2 separate regions of the Homo sapiens genome follow, and region 1 is linked to region 2. Evidence: promoter capture Hi-C in human tissues and cell types (Jung and others, 2019). All regions are on one chromosome and are shown on one strand. Each heading gives the region's core, a stretch centred on a gene start or on the middle of the fragment in contact. The rest is flanking DNA. Distances are from core to core; before and after follow the strand shown.

The links. The method cuts DNA at HindIII sites, captures the fragments that hold promoters and counts their contacts. A contact is called where the count stands out against the background at its distance.
Region 1: a contact is called between a fragment that was not itself captured here and the fragment with the promoter of AGO2 in region 2, in 1 of the 25 tissues and cell types used here (mesenchymal stem cells).

The regions. Positions count from the first base shown.
Region 1 is chr8:141,163,528-141,169,588 of GRCh38, reverse strand. DENND3 (DENN domain containing 3) reads right to left here. Exons shown (of 23, transcript NM_001352890.3): 11 at 4,300-4,403; 12 at 3,200-3,399; 13 at 1,064-1,585. Among named protein-coding and RNA genes, the nearest start is that of DENND3-AS1, 36 kb to the right of the region's middle. RefSeq lists a silencer at 4,645-4,939. The HindIII fragment of the contact is 7,482 bases long and covers 1-6,061 here.
Region 2 is chr8:140,633,916-140,640,787 of GRCh38, reverse strand. AGO2 (argonaute RISC catalytic component 2) reads left to right here and starts at 5,155. Exons shown (of 19, transcript NM_012154.5): 1 at 5,155-5,303. The coding sequence starts at 5,282. It overlaps ERICD (E2F1-regulated inhibitor of cell death), which reads right to left and starts at 6,553. Exons shown (of 1, transcript NR_170171.1): 1 at 2,505-6,553. RefSeq lists silencers at 4,591-4,990, 5,641-5,810, 6,294-6,343 and an enhancer at 6,150-6,872. The HindIII fragment of the contact is 25,430 bases long and covers 1-6,737 here.

The DNA.
Region 1 (6,061 bases), core at 1,673-4,172, 530 kb before region 2:
CTGGGTCTAAGCACAAGCCCACTGCACTCCATGGGAAACGCAGCAGGTGTTAGTCTGGGCGCAGGACCCTGGCATTTGTCCCACGTCCCCGCTTTTGCATGTGTCTGCAGCATTTCAGCCGAGGCCATGGTTCTGTGCAGATGCTGAGCAATTCTCCCGGACAAGGAGCGTCTTCATCTCCCATCAGCAATTCTAGGTCCCTTCCACCCACACAGAGCGCAGCTCAGAGCCCAGCCTGGAGACAGGCTGTGTAAGATCTCAGGACAGGCACATTGCCTAAGGGCCCCGCCAACCACACCCGTTCCCAGGTAAGTGCCCAGGGCAACTGTAAAGACCACGGTGCTGCAGCGGTCTTGCCTGCCACCTGCTGGCGGCTTACCTCACCACTGCTGTTACCTGACCACTGTCGTTAAGCATTTAAAATATATAGGGTCAGGCGCGGTGGCTCACGCCTGTAATCCCAGCACTTTGGGGGGCCAAGACAGGTGGATCACCTTGAGGTCAGGAGTTTGAGACCAGCCTGGCCAACATGGTGAAACCCTGTCTCTACAAAAATACAAAAATTAGCTGGGTGTGGAGGCGCATGCCTATAATCCCAGCTACTCAGGAGGTTAAGACAGGAGAATCACTTGAACCCAGGAGGCAGAGGTTGCAGTGAGCCAAGATCGTGCCATTGTACTCCAACCTGGGAGACAGAGCAAGACTCCATCTCATAAATAAAGTAAAATAAAATATATGGGCCCAACGCAGAGGCTCACTCTTGTAATCTCAGCACTTAGGGAGGCCGAGGTGGGTGGATCACTTGAGCCCAGGAGTTCGAGACCAGCCTGGGCAACATACTGAAACCCTGTCTCTACAAAAAATACTAAAATTAGCCGGGCACGGTGTCGCGTACCTGTAGTCTAGTCCCAGCTACTCGGGAGGCTGAGGTGGGAGGACTGCTTGAGCCCAGGAGGTGGAGGTTGCAGTGAGCTGTGATTGCCAGTCCACTCCAGCCTGGGCGACAGAGCCAGACCCTGTCTCTAAATAATAAAATCTGTGATGGTGCCAGGCCTCCTCTTACCTACAGTCAAGGCCTCGAACAGCCGGTGTATGATGCTGGCGTCCTTCACGATCCCTGACTCCTGGACCCGCTTCATGAAGTCGCCCAGCTGCATGTGCTTCTTGGGCAGCTTGAACTTCTTCACGTGGTCGTCCAGCTTCGAGGCCTCGTGCGGCTTGTCCAGGATCTCGCTGATGAGCCTCATCAGCTCCGGCGCCTGCTCAGCCCCCTCCCACTCAGGGGCAGACATGGATTCCACCGTCCTCTTCACCAAATCAGTGGGAAAGATCCGTATGTCTGTTTTATACAGATTCTGGAAGTCCAAGAGGGCGTTCAGCAGCTGTCCCTGCATCAGATAAACGAGCCCTCGGAGGTACAAATAGCGGGCCAGGAGCAGAGAGTTATCGGGGGCCAGAAAGCACATGGCCTCGCTCAGCATGGAGACAAAGTGGGCATGGTATGCCTGCACGCACTTGCTCTCCAGCGGAAAGTGGATTTCGGGAATCTTGAATGTATACGGGGACTTCGGCGTGACATTCAGAACTAAAACATTCAGGGGGAAAAGGAGACCATTAGCACAGACCTTCCAAATGAACACGTGTCCCTGTCACATCATCTTGTCAAGGACAATGTTTCTCTGGATGCAAAATAAAATGAGAATGGGTGTGCTCCCTCCAGAAAGCTCCACACACCCACCCCCCTGGGAGGCATGAGAGAACCCTCACTTTGCTTCCATGGTACCCCAAGGAGAATAGCAGCTAGCATTCACTGAACAATTTGGTTTGCTACAACTAGTAATACTACTGAGGTATCGGGTACTGAGGCTTTATTTGAGGATGAAGCTAATAGCCTAAGCCAAGATGTACCTGCTAGGCAGGATGAAGCCCTTTAGAACCATTGTTTCATTTACCTTAAAGACAACTCAGGACAGGGGTATTATTACTATAGTCCCGTTCTACAGATGCGGAAACCGAGGCTTCCACAGCCTGGGTTACTTGTCCCAGGTACACAGCGACTAAGTGCCTGAGCCACACTTCAACCAGGTGTGTGTCTCACACCAACTCCTTCTATAGATGTTACCTAAGGGCCCTCCAGGAGCTAGGCACCAACTGGGTGCTGGGTTTCCTCTTCTCCCAGGAGCTCCAGAGGACCAAGAGAGCAGGAGGAGGGTCATGGGGGCTCCAGGGGAAGGTTCCGAGGGCAGGGAAAGCGGAGCATGCTCCCAGGGTGAGTGGGCACAGGGCACCTGCCAGCGGCAGACTGACAGATGTTCAGAAGAGGAACTGCAGAACCAGGGAGGTGAAGCTGCCTGCCCAGGGTCACACAGCCAGGGGCAGAAGGCTCGGACCCCACAGTGGCCTCCAGAATGTTCGCTCTGAGCTCCAGCGCTCAGCCGATAAAGACAACGTGGTCTGTCATTCATGCGCACTGCCCCTGCTAGACCATAGCCCTCGGGGTCATCAAGGTGTCACTCGTGCAGCTCCTGGGGTCCCAGCACAGTGATCAGGAGGAGCCACATGGTACTTGCTGCCTGGGCCCGAGACAGCAGCAGCAGGTGCCCTGGGGGTCAAGGCCCCGGCCTCCCGACAGTTTCTCCCATTCACTAGGGACAGGACGTACCTCCCCAAGAAGGCGCGAGGCTGGGCTTGGCCTCTCCATGCAGTCCCATCTCTGTGGAAATGTCCCAACCACAGTCAAGCCCCCTCCCCATCCCTGGCCCTGCTCACTTTAGCCCTGGCCCTGGAATGCCAGCTCCACGAGGGCAGGGGCACTGGGCTCCTTCACAGCTCCGGCTCTAGAAAGTGCCTGGTGCGCTCCCTGCCTCCTATCACACGTGTGGATGTGTAAATATGTATTTATACACATGCAATCCACACATACAGAGACAGGCACAGCCTACACCTGTGAAGGATGCCGAACCATGCCGAGCCCCCGTTATCTTTAGCGGTGACACTGGGTGGCAGAAAATACAGACGAGAAATAATTTTCTAGAAGGCATACCTTGGCAAAATGAATATTCTAAACATTTCAAATAACTCAGCTGCTAAAACAAGCCCACTCGTCTCTCCTGAAACAAGTCCCAGTTTTGCTCAATGACTTGCAGGTGCAGGAATGGTGGGACCGACACACAGCACCACAGTGGGGGGCAGCCCTCACCTGCGCTGCTGCCCCTACAGCCTGCGGTGTCCGTCAGCCGGAGCGAGGAGTTCCTGGGTGCCAGCTCAGGCATGGCAATGTCCTGCAGGTTGGGCATGCTGACCACCATGCGCCTGTGGGTGACATGCAGGTGCGAGGACTTCCGGGAGGCTCTTTTCTCAACGGTCGGTCTCCTTGGACTTAGAAGCATTCCATTTATTCTGGGGTACGAAAAAGCAACGCGTTAGTTTATAGACACAATAATGATTGAAGAATAAGCCTAAACTAAGCATTTTTCCCAGTGTGATGAAGAGCACATGACACTCTTGGACACCAGTGGAAAACAGACTGGTAAGAACATGTTGCCCAAATCTCACCAAGTGCAGCCTCAGGGGGACCCAGACACAAGCCCAGAAGAAACCAGCATAAGCCAACAGGGGCCCTGACTGCAGCAGACACATGTTGGAGGGGGCTCAGGAAGAGAGCAAGGAAGAGATGGAAAACAGCAGGCTTTGAGGATGGGGGGAGGTGGGAAGAGAGAAAGGAGATGAGAGAGAGCAGCACCGAGGAAGACGCAAGGGCCACAAACCACGGGGAGCATGCTAACATCGGGCACGTTTCAAGTGTTCCCTCAAGAAGTAGAAACAGGCCAGGAGTGGTGGCTCATGCCTGTAATCCCAGCACTTTGGGAGGCTGAGGTGGGTGGATCACCTGAGGTCAGGAGTTCAAGACCAGCCTGGCCAACATGGCGAAACCCCATCTTTACAAAAATACAAAAATTAGCCGGGCATGATGGTGGGTGCCTGTAATCCCAGCTACTCAGGAGGCTGAGGCAGGAGAATTGCTTGAACCCAGGAGGCGGAGGTTGCAGTGAGCGGAGATTGAGCTACTGCACTCCAGCCTGGGCAACAAGAGCGAGACTCCGTCTCAAAAAAAAAAAAAAAAAGAAGAAGTAGAAACATGGAGAGAAGAGCTTCCTAGCTGTCGCCCAGTTCATCATGAGTTTCTAAGCACAAGGTATTTCCCATTGACTTTCTCATTTACTCATTCGAATAAAACTGAGGTCCTTGAACACTGTGATTCCTAAAGAGCTGCAGATCCAAAACACAACAGTGAAGCACCTGTCCTCCTCCGACTGGGTGTCGAGGTCCATCTGAGCAAAGGCGTCCATCCTCCTATTGAGCCGGGCTTTAAGAAAAGAATGGAACATGTAGGTGTCTAAGACCTGGAAAAGAGAGAGGGGCTGGTCACTGGGCTGTGCCGACTCCCCAGGTCCCTGCTCCAAAGCCCCTGAGCCTTCCTGGCACAGAACTGGGCATCACCACTCACACCCAGTGGATATTGACTGAGTGAATGAACTCGAGGGTTTTCTGCTCTTCCTCATTCACACAGGAGAAGAAATGGCTGCCATACATTCACACACTGGGTCCCACATACCCACCCCATGAACAAAAGAGTATTTCATCATAGCTACAAGAGGTGGACACAAGCTTCTGGCCATAAGGCAGTAGACAAGGCTCAGACATATCCTCCTGACATAAACTATGAGGAAACTCGATAAAAAAGAGGAAACGACTGTTTTCAGATGCTGGACGAGAGGCAGGCTCGTGGCTGGCGCAGCTCCAGCACTGAGGGCATGGAGGGAGCTCACAGAGGCTGAGGCAGCTGGAAGCCTCGGGCAGGGCTCTGGAGAGGAGGGAATGATACAGGGAGCTCCCGGAGCCTGCATCAGGGTCTCCCTAAGCCTTTGCTGAATACCCCGCTGCCCAGTCATAGGGCGAAACCGCATCAAACCAAAGAACGACTGGGAAGCTGTAAGCAAAACAACTCTCCAAGCTCACAGGGCAGAGAGCCAGTCACGCTCCCAACAGCCAAGGCGGAGGGCCCTGGCTGACCCCTCAGCCATTCAGGAGACACCCGGGGCAGGGTACGTCACTTAGCAGATGGGTTAGGCTATAAACCAACCCTAGAGAAAGGCTGTTCTCGGCCCACCCCAAAGCTGTAAAAACAAACCCCCAAAGGATCAAGGGGCTCTTCAGGCAGCTTCAATCGCCTGCCAGGGCAAAGCCCCCAAGGTGATTATTTTTTTGTAATAGTCACAAATGGAAACAACCCCAATGCTCAGTAGCAGGTGGACAGAAGAACAAAGCGCACTCTGTCCCAACCACGGGACATTCCTAGCAAAAAAAGGAGCCGCCGCTGAGACACACAGTAGCCCAGCTCGGTCCGAGGCAGGAGGCTGAGGGAGAGAGGCAGACAGAGCGCAGACCGCAGGACTGCACAGCGCAAGACTCTGAGATGGGCCAGCCGTCTACGGGGATGCACACAGGTAGAGTTGCCAGGACCTGGGGAGGGATGGGGCAGACTGGAGCCATGGAAATGTTCTATGTCCAGGTTGAGGAAGTGGTGATACAGATATGTACATTTGTCAAAATCCATCAAACCACACACTTAAAATGGCCATATTTTAAGTAAATTATACTTTTTTTTTTTTTTTTTTTTTGAGACGGAGTCTTGCTCTGTCGCCCAGGCTGGAATATAGTGACACCATCTTGGCTCACAGCAACCTCCACCCCCTGGGTTCAAGCAATTCTCCTGCCTTAGCCTCCTGAGTAGCTGGGATTACAGGCGTGCACTACCACACCCAGCTAATTTTTGTATTTTTAGTAGAGATGGGATTTCACCATGTTGGCCAGGCTGGTCTCGAACTCCTGACCTCAGGTGATCTGCCCGCCTCGGCCTCCCAAAGTGCTGGGATTACAGGCATGAGCCACTGTGCCTGGCCACAAGTAAATTATACTCTTAAAAAGCTGATTTTTTTAAAAAAGAGGGAGAGCCACATGGTCAAAAGGAACCATGCTAAAACAAACTTTTTGGAAAAGT
Region 2 (6,872 bases), core at 3,906-6,405:
TAGCACTTTGGGAGGCCAAGGCGGGCGGATCACAAGGTCAGGAGTTCGAGACCAGCCTGGCCAATATGGTGAAACCCCGTCTCTACTACAAATACAAAAAATTAGCTGGGCATGGTGGCGCATGCCAGTACTCCTAGCTACTCAGGAGGCTGAGGTAGGAGAATCGCTTGAACCCGGGAGGTGGAGGTTGCAGTGAGCTGGGATTGCACCACTGGCACTCTAGCCTGTGCAACAGAGCGAGACTCCATCTCAAAAAAAAAAGAAACACCAGCTGTCCTCAGGCTGGGGCAAAGGAAGGCAAGGGCACCCACACCTCATAGGTGAGACACCATCCTTTGAAGAGGAACTAGATTCAGAGTTAAATTTAGGGGGCTGTAAGTAAGTGTGCCAGACTAAAAAGCAGAGATCAATGCCTGCCTGAAAAAAATACAGTTTGAAAAGAAAAAAAATAATAAAACAAACAAAAAGAATGCAGTTTGGCTGTGCATGGTGGCTCACGCCTGTAATCCCAGCACTTCGGGAGGCCAAGGCAGACAGATCACTTGAGGTCAGGAGCTCAAGACAAGCCTGGCCAACATGATGAAACCCCATCTCTACTAAAAATACAAAAAATTAGCCGGGTGTGGTGGCATGCGCCTGTAATCCCAGCTGCTGGGGAGGCTGAGGCAGGAGAATCACTCGAACCCAGGAGGCGAAGGCTGCAATGAGCCGAGATGGCACCACTGCTCTCCAGCCTAGGAGACAGAGCAAGGCACTGTCTTAAAATTAAAAATTAAAAAAAAATGGCAACTTGAGAGGAAACAGAGGGCCAAAATGAAGTACCTCTTGTCTAGAGATGGTTACCTGAAGAAGCAGAAGGTGTGGCCTGTATTCAGACACGCTCACCAGTCAAGGGAACACCACATCCAGGCCCCTCCACCCTATCCTGCAAAGGGGGCCCAGCTGGCAGACCCAGTGGAGGATGGCACTGGCAGATTTTAAAGAGGTTATCATGGCCTGTTTTTGTTTTGTTTCTGAAACAGGGTCTCACTCTGTCACCCAGGCTGGAATGCAGTGGCACAGTTATAGCTCACTGCAGCCTCGACCTCCTGGGCTCAAGCAATCCTCCCACCTCAGTCTCCTGAGTAGCTGGGACTACAGATGTGTGCCACCATGTTCAGCTAATTTTTTTTTATTTTGTAGCGATGGGGTCCCCAGGCTGGTCTGGAACTCGTGGCCTCAAGCAATCCTCTCACCTTGACCTCCCAAAGCACTGAGACTTTGGGCACAAACCACTGCATATGGCCTGCTTAGTTTTTTTTTTTTTTCAGATGGAGTTTCGCTCTGTCCTCCAGGTTGGAGTGCAGTGGCACAATCTCGGCTCACTGCGACCTCCGCCTCCCAGGTTCAAGTGATTCTCCTGCCTCAGCCTCCCGAGTAGCTGGGACTACAGGCGCGTGCCACCACAACCAGCTAATTTTTTGTATTTTTAGTAGAGACAGGGTTTCACCGTGTTAGCCAGGATGGTCTCTATCTCCTGACCTCGTGATCCACCTGCCTTGGCCTCCCAAAGTGCTAGGATTACAGGCGTGAGCCACCTGCTTAGTTTTTAATTAAAAAACAAAACAAAACAAAAAACCAGTCTGGGCATAGTGTCTCACACTTGTAGTCCCAGCACTTTGGGGGCTGAGGCTGGTGGATCACTTGAGCCCAGGAATTTGAAACCAGCCTGGACAATATGGTGAAACATCATCTCTACAAAGATTAGCTGAGCCTGGTGGGATACTCTTGTAGTCCTAGTAACTTGGGAGGCTGAGGTAGGAGGATTATTTAAGTCCAGGAGGCTGCAGTGAGCTATGATTGCACCACTGCACTCCAGCATGGGCAATAGAGTGAGACCCTGTCTAGAAAAATACAAAAACAAAAAAAATAAGGTCAGGTGTAGTGGCTCATGCCTGTAATCCCAGCACTTTGAGGAGGCCAAGGTGGGAGGATCACTTGGGCCAAGCAGTTCAAGACCAACCTGAGCAACACAGTGAGACCTGTCTCTACAAAAGTTTTTAAAAATTAGCCAGGCATGGTGGCATGCACCTGTGGTCCCAGCTGCTCAGGAGGCTGAGGTGGGAGGATCACTTGAGCCTGGGAAGTCAAGGCTGCAATGAGCTGTGTTTTCGCCACTACACTTTCACTTTGGTGATCCTGTCTCAAAGTATATATTACTCAAAGAATCATAGACTATTAGAGCTGGAAGGGATCATAGAAGACCTCTACCTCTGTGTTTCCTAAATTATGCTCCACGGAACCTTGAGGTACCTCGTGAAAAAAGGGTTCTGTGGCTAAATGGGTTTGGGACAGGTTGCATACTGTCTCATGCCCTCCTTCCTCTTTGTAGAAGCATGATTCTTCTCACCTTGCTACAGGCTCTGAGAAGGCCTGCAGACAATAAACTTATTTATCATTGTTTGATCCAGTGCTTCCCAATTTACTTGACTTCCCAAAGCTGCTTTAATCATGTGCAGAACATGTTTTAGGAACAAATGATTTATTCCATTGCCTGCATTTTAGTCTTGAAGAAACAAAGTGCCCCCAAAGCCGAGGGCTTTGTCAGCCCTGTGGCCTCAGGAGCTTTCTCTGTACTTCCCCTCACCCCTTCTTTCTCTCTCATGGGGAGCTGGTGCTTTAGACTGAGTGCACCCAGTGTGCAGAGCTGCAGGCCAGGCTGCTGCAAATGTCCCTGGCTGTGATTAGAGCCCACGGTCTTATCAAAGCATCAGGATCCTAAAACACAGAGGAAGGAATTGTATCAGGGAGAAGCACTGGGTCCAGAAGACCCAGAGTCGGCTGAGTCACCATCCGGGTGTGGGACGTGGGTCTGGGGGACAGAGCAGCAAGGGCTGGAGACATGTCACAGCAAGCACCGAGACGCACAGTCAGATGAGTTAAGCAGGTTCACTAATGGCAGGAGAGGTAACAGGCAGAGGGGACTGCAGTTCTCAGCTCCGTTGGGTGGTGGATCTGTTAGCCATGCTGAGTGAGGGACACCAGAAGAAAAGCAGGTTGGGAGGAGGGTAGGGATGGGGCTGCAGGAAGCGGGCTGAATTCCTGAACACAGGTGTGGAGGGTAGAGACCTGCAGAGAATGGGCTTATCTAGGAAAAGAGCAGAGGGAACCCCGTGCCCCAGAGGGCGAACCCAGTGACTGCATGGGCCCTGGGGATAGAGATGGGGCAGGCAGCAATGGCACCCCTCCGCCAGCAGAGGGCCACGGTGTCCGCCATCCAAAGAGAAGTGACACAATGAAGCCCTCAGAGACATTATCTTGCCTTCTGGAACGAAATCCTTGCAACAAAGTTCCCCAACACAGCGCTCAAAGGAGCTGAAGGCGGGCTGAGGGCAGCCAGTGATGACAGAGCCTTCTGGGCCTTTGCTGAGGCGTGCAGTCGCTGACAGCAGGGCAGTTGGGCCTCAGGGATTTCGGGCCAAAACGAGTTTTGGGGATATGTGAAGGAGACAGGGGCAGAGAGAGAGGGTGGGCATCTGCGAACTGGGAAGATTGATGAGGTTGCATGGTTCATAAATAGGAAAGTGGTAACATTCATGATTATTTAAAAATTTCCGTGAAATACTACAGTAAAGGTACAGAAAAGCATATAAAGTAAAAGTGCAGTTTAAGGGATGGCTGCCAAAGGGCACCATTGCAGGAAGGAACAGGCCTGGCACCCCCAAATCCCCCAGGGGCCCTGCTGTGGTCACAGCCCTCTCACCCCCAGCTGTATCCACCATTCTGACACTTAGAGTAAGCACCTTCTTGCCCTTCTGTCAATTATTTACTACTTAATGATGCTTCCCTAAAGAATGCAGTTTAATTTTGCCTGTTTTGGAATTTTTGTGAATGGCTAGATTCCATCCTGTGAATATGAGCACACTGTTTCTCCATCCTGCTCTCCGTGGGTATTCAGTGCCATGCAGTCCAAGCGGTGATGAAGAATGCCATGCACACTCCTACCCAGGTTTCCTGGTGTTCATTACTACACATTTCAGGAGCACGTTTTGTATCGGCAACTTGGTGAAGACTGATGTCCTTTTGAGTTTTCGGAGGAAGTGCTGGTTCTCCTGCCCTTCTTCAGGGCTGTCCTCCGAGACTGCAGAGAACTAGTGACCACCCTGCTGGCTGCGGAGCTCCTGTCAGTCAGAACTCCTGTTTATTCTCCGCCCGGAACAGGGCCTTGCACCCATATGCAGACAGCCGATGCCACGGGGTGAAGGAATGCTCCGGGAAATCTGGGAAAAGGCGACCAGGCACTTTAGATTGTGGGTCAACCTCTGCCTTCTAATCCTCCATCACTTAGGGGAGAAAGGAGGTAGCCACAGGCTGGCTTTTCCAGGAAAGCCTCCGAAAACCAGACGGACCCAGAGGGACCGGACAGAAACGCTCGGAGGTGCACGACGGTCCGAGCAGGCCCCTGACTGCTGGAATGGGCGTGTCCGCTGATCTGATCCCTGATACCAGCTACAGTTTACTAAAAACTTCTTAGATTTTCTCAGTGCTTTAAACGGATTATCTGGGTTCTGGGGCCGCGCCGGGAGGTGGCGGTGTGGTCCTGCGCGAGCGGCCGGCCGCGTTCAAGTTCAAGCTCCGGGCTGGGAGGGAGCTTCCCGACCTCCGTGTTTCTGTAGTAACTTAAAGAGCCAGGCTGGGGGCCGAGGGGCTGAGGGTGGGAGGGTTCTGCGCCCCCCACCGGGGGGCGGCGGGGAAAGCGGGGGCGCGTGGCCTCCCCTCCGGCTCCGGCGGCACAGCCGGGGGGCCCGGCTCCTCCCCGTCGGGAAGACGCGGCTTCTCTGGGTGGCAGTGAAGGGTCCCCGGGGCCGCGCCCGCCCCCGCGCCACACGGGCCGCGCCGCCCTCGGCCCTCGTCCCCGCTCCCGCCCGCGGTTCCCACCGCCCGGCGAGGTCTCCGGGCCCCTCCCCGGGTCCCCGCCCCAGGCCCCGCCAGACCCGGCGCCGCCGCCGCCGCCGCCGCGGACCCCGCCCGCGCGCCCAGCCCCGCTCCCCCCGCGAGCGCGCTCCCGCCGCCGGCCTCGCCTCCCCTCCCCCTCCCTCCTCCTTCCTCCCCCGCCCCTCCCGCTCCCGCTCCCGCCGCCGCCTCCGCCCGCCGCCCCGGCCGCGTCGGGTAAACCTGTTTGGCGAGGCGGCCGCGCCGGGGCGGATCGTGCGGCCGGCGGCTCCCTCGCGGCTCGCGGCGTCGGGGCCCGTGGCGCGCGCGCGGCCGCCCCTCGGCCCCGGAGCCCCTCGGCGGCGCCACCATGTACTCGGGAGCCGGCCCCGGTGAGTCCTGGCGCTCGGGGCGCCCGCCCGGCCGTTCGCGCGCTCCTGCCCGTGGTTGGCGGGCCCGGCGCGGGCGGCAGGGGCCGGGGATCGGGGGGCCGCGGGGTCGGGGCGGCGGGGGCCGGGGGCGGGCGAGCCGGGGCCGCGCTTGGGGGCTCGAGGAGCGGCGGCGGCGGGGCCGAGCCGGCCGTTTTCTCGGCCCCGCGTTGGACGCGCAGCCCCGGCCTCCTCGGCCCCCGCGAGTCGTCGGGGCGCCCCGCGCGGCCTGGGCCCCTCCCGCGCCTCGGGCCCGCGTCCCAGCGTCCTCGCATCCCCCGCCCGGGGCCCGCGGGCTGGGGCCGGGGCCGAGGCGGCCGCCGCGTGTAGGCCCGAGGCCCGGAGCGCCCCGCTTGGCCCGGCCTCGCTGCCCGGGCGGGGATGGGGGCGCCGCAGCCCGGCCCGGCCTGACCCTGAGCGCCTGAGCGGGTGGAGGCCGGGTCGGGGCGCCCGGCTCGGGGCGCGCACGGGCGGGAGGGGAGGGGGCTGCGCCGGTCCCGACCCCAGCCGCGGTGAGTCTGTGGCGCGCTCCGTTGTGGCCCTTCTTGTTGCCGGCACTTCTTCGGCCCCTTTTCCCAAGGAAAGTCTGGAAATGCTGAATTTTGGCCAATTCCTGTAGTTAGGGCTGTCGCCTGGAAAGGGGAGGACGCGGCTCCCCGGAACCCTCAAACTGCGTGCGCGGCTCGTTCTCATTCCAGACACGCCGGCCTCCCCATTCAAGTGCTAATTCCTTTTACAATTTCCTAGGAGAGGTGAGGCGAGGTGGATTCCTGTAGCACCCCTTGTTGCTAGTCGGCCTTTCTCTGGAAAAGTTCTAAAAAACTTAAAGCGGTAACGCGTTGTTTTTCTTTTTAAATGCAGAGTAGAAGGCGGTCTCCTTGGTGGGCCAAAAAAACGGTCAGGTGTTCTCCTGCTTTTGGCGTGCTCCCACCGGGCACGTGGCTCCTGGCTCTCTCGGCCGGCCTGGCCGCTGGGACGGGGCACCGCCTGCTCCCCTTTGTCCGCTGGGCCCCAGCCGGGCCGCAGGCGGCGCAGGCCCCGCCGGGCTCTGGGCTTATGTTTACCCGGCCGGGCGAGGAGGCTCGCATTCCCGATGCTGCCCTCGTTGCTGCAGACCGGCCCCAAATTGTGGGGTCCGGAAGGCCCCCTGGCCCACCTTGGTCCGTTGATGGTGGCCCCCACTGCTGGAGCTGTTGGCTCTGTGCCTTGCGAATGTCGCGTCTTTTTTCTGATGTCATTTAGAAAGCTTCAACAAGGCGGAGTCTGACCAACTTTTCAACCCCTGAGGGCCATCAGCAGTTTGAAGAATGATTTTCCCCCTCCACCTGGGAGGGGCCGCAGTCCTGGAGCAGGTGCTGGCCTCTAGAGGCCTTGGGTGGCCAGGCCCCCTCTTGGGAAAGGACCGGGCATCCCCTTGTGAGTTGGGACCTTCCAGCTCCTCTTTGTAGAGGAACCCAGCTTATGGGACTGACAGCACTACATTTTTTCAGGTTATCGGTTTTAAAAGTTGGAGGCCCAGAAAAAGTGAAGAGG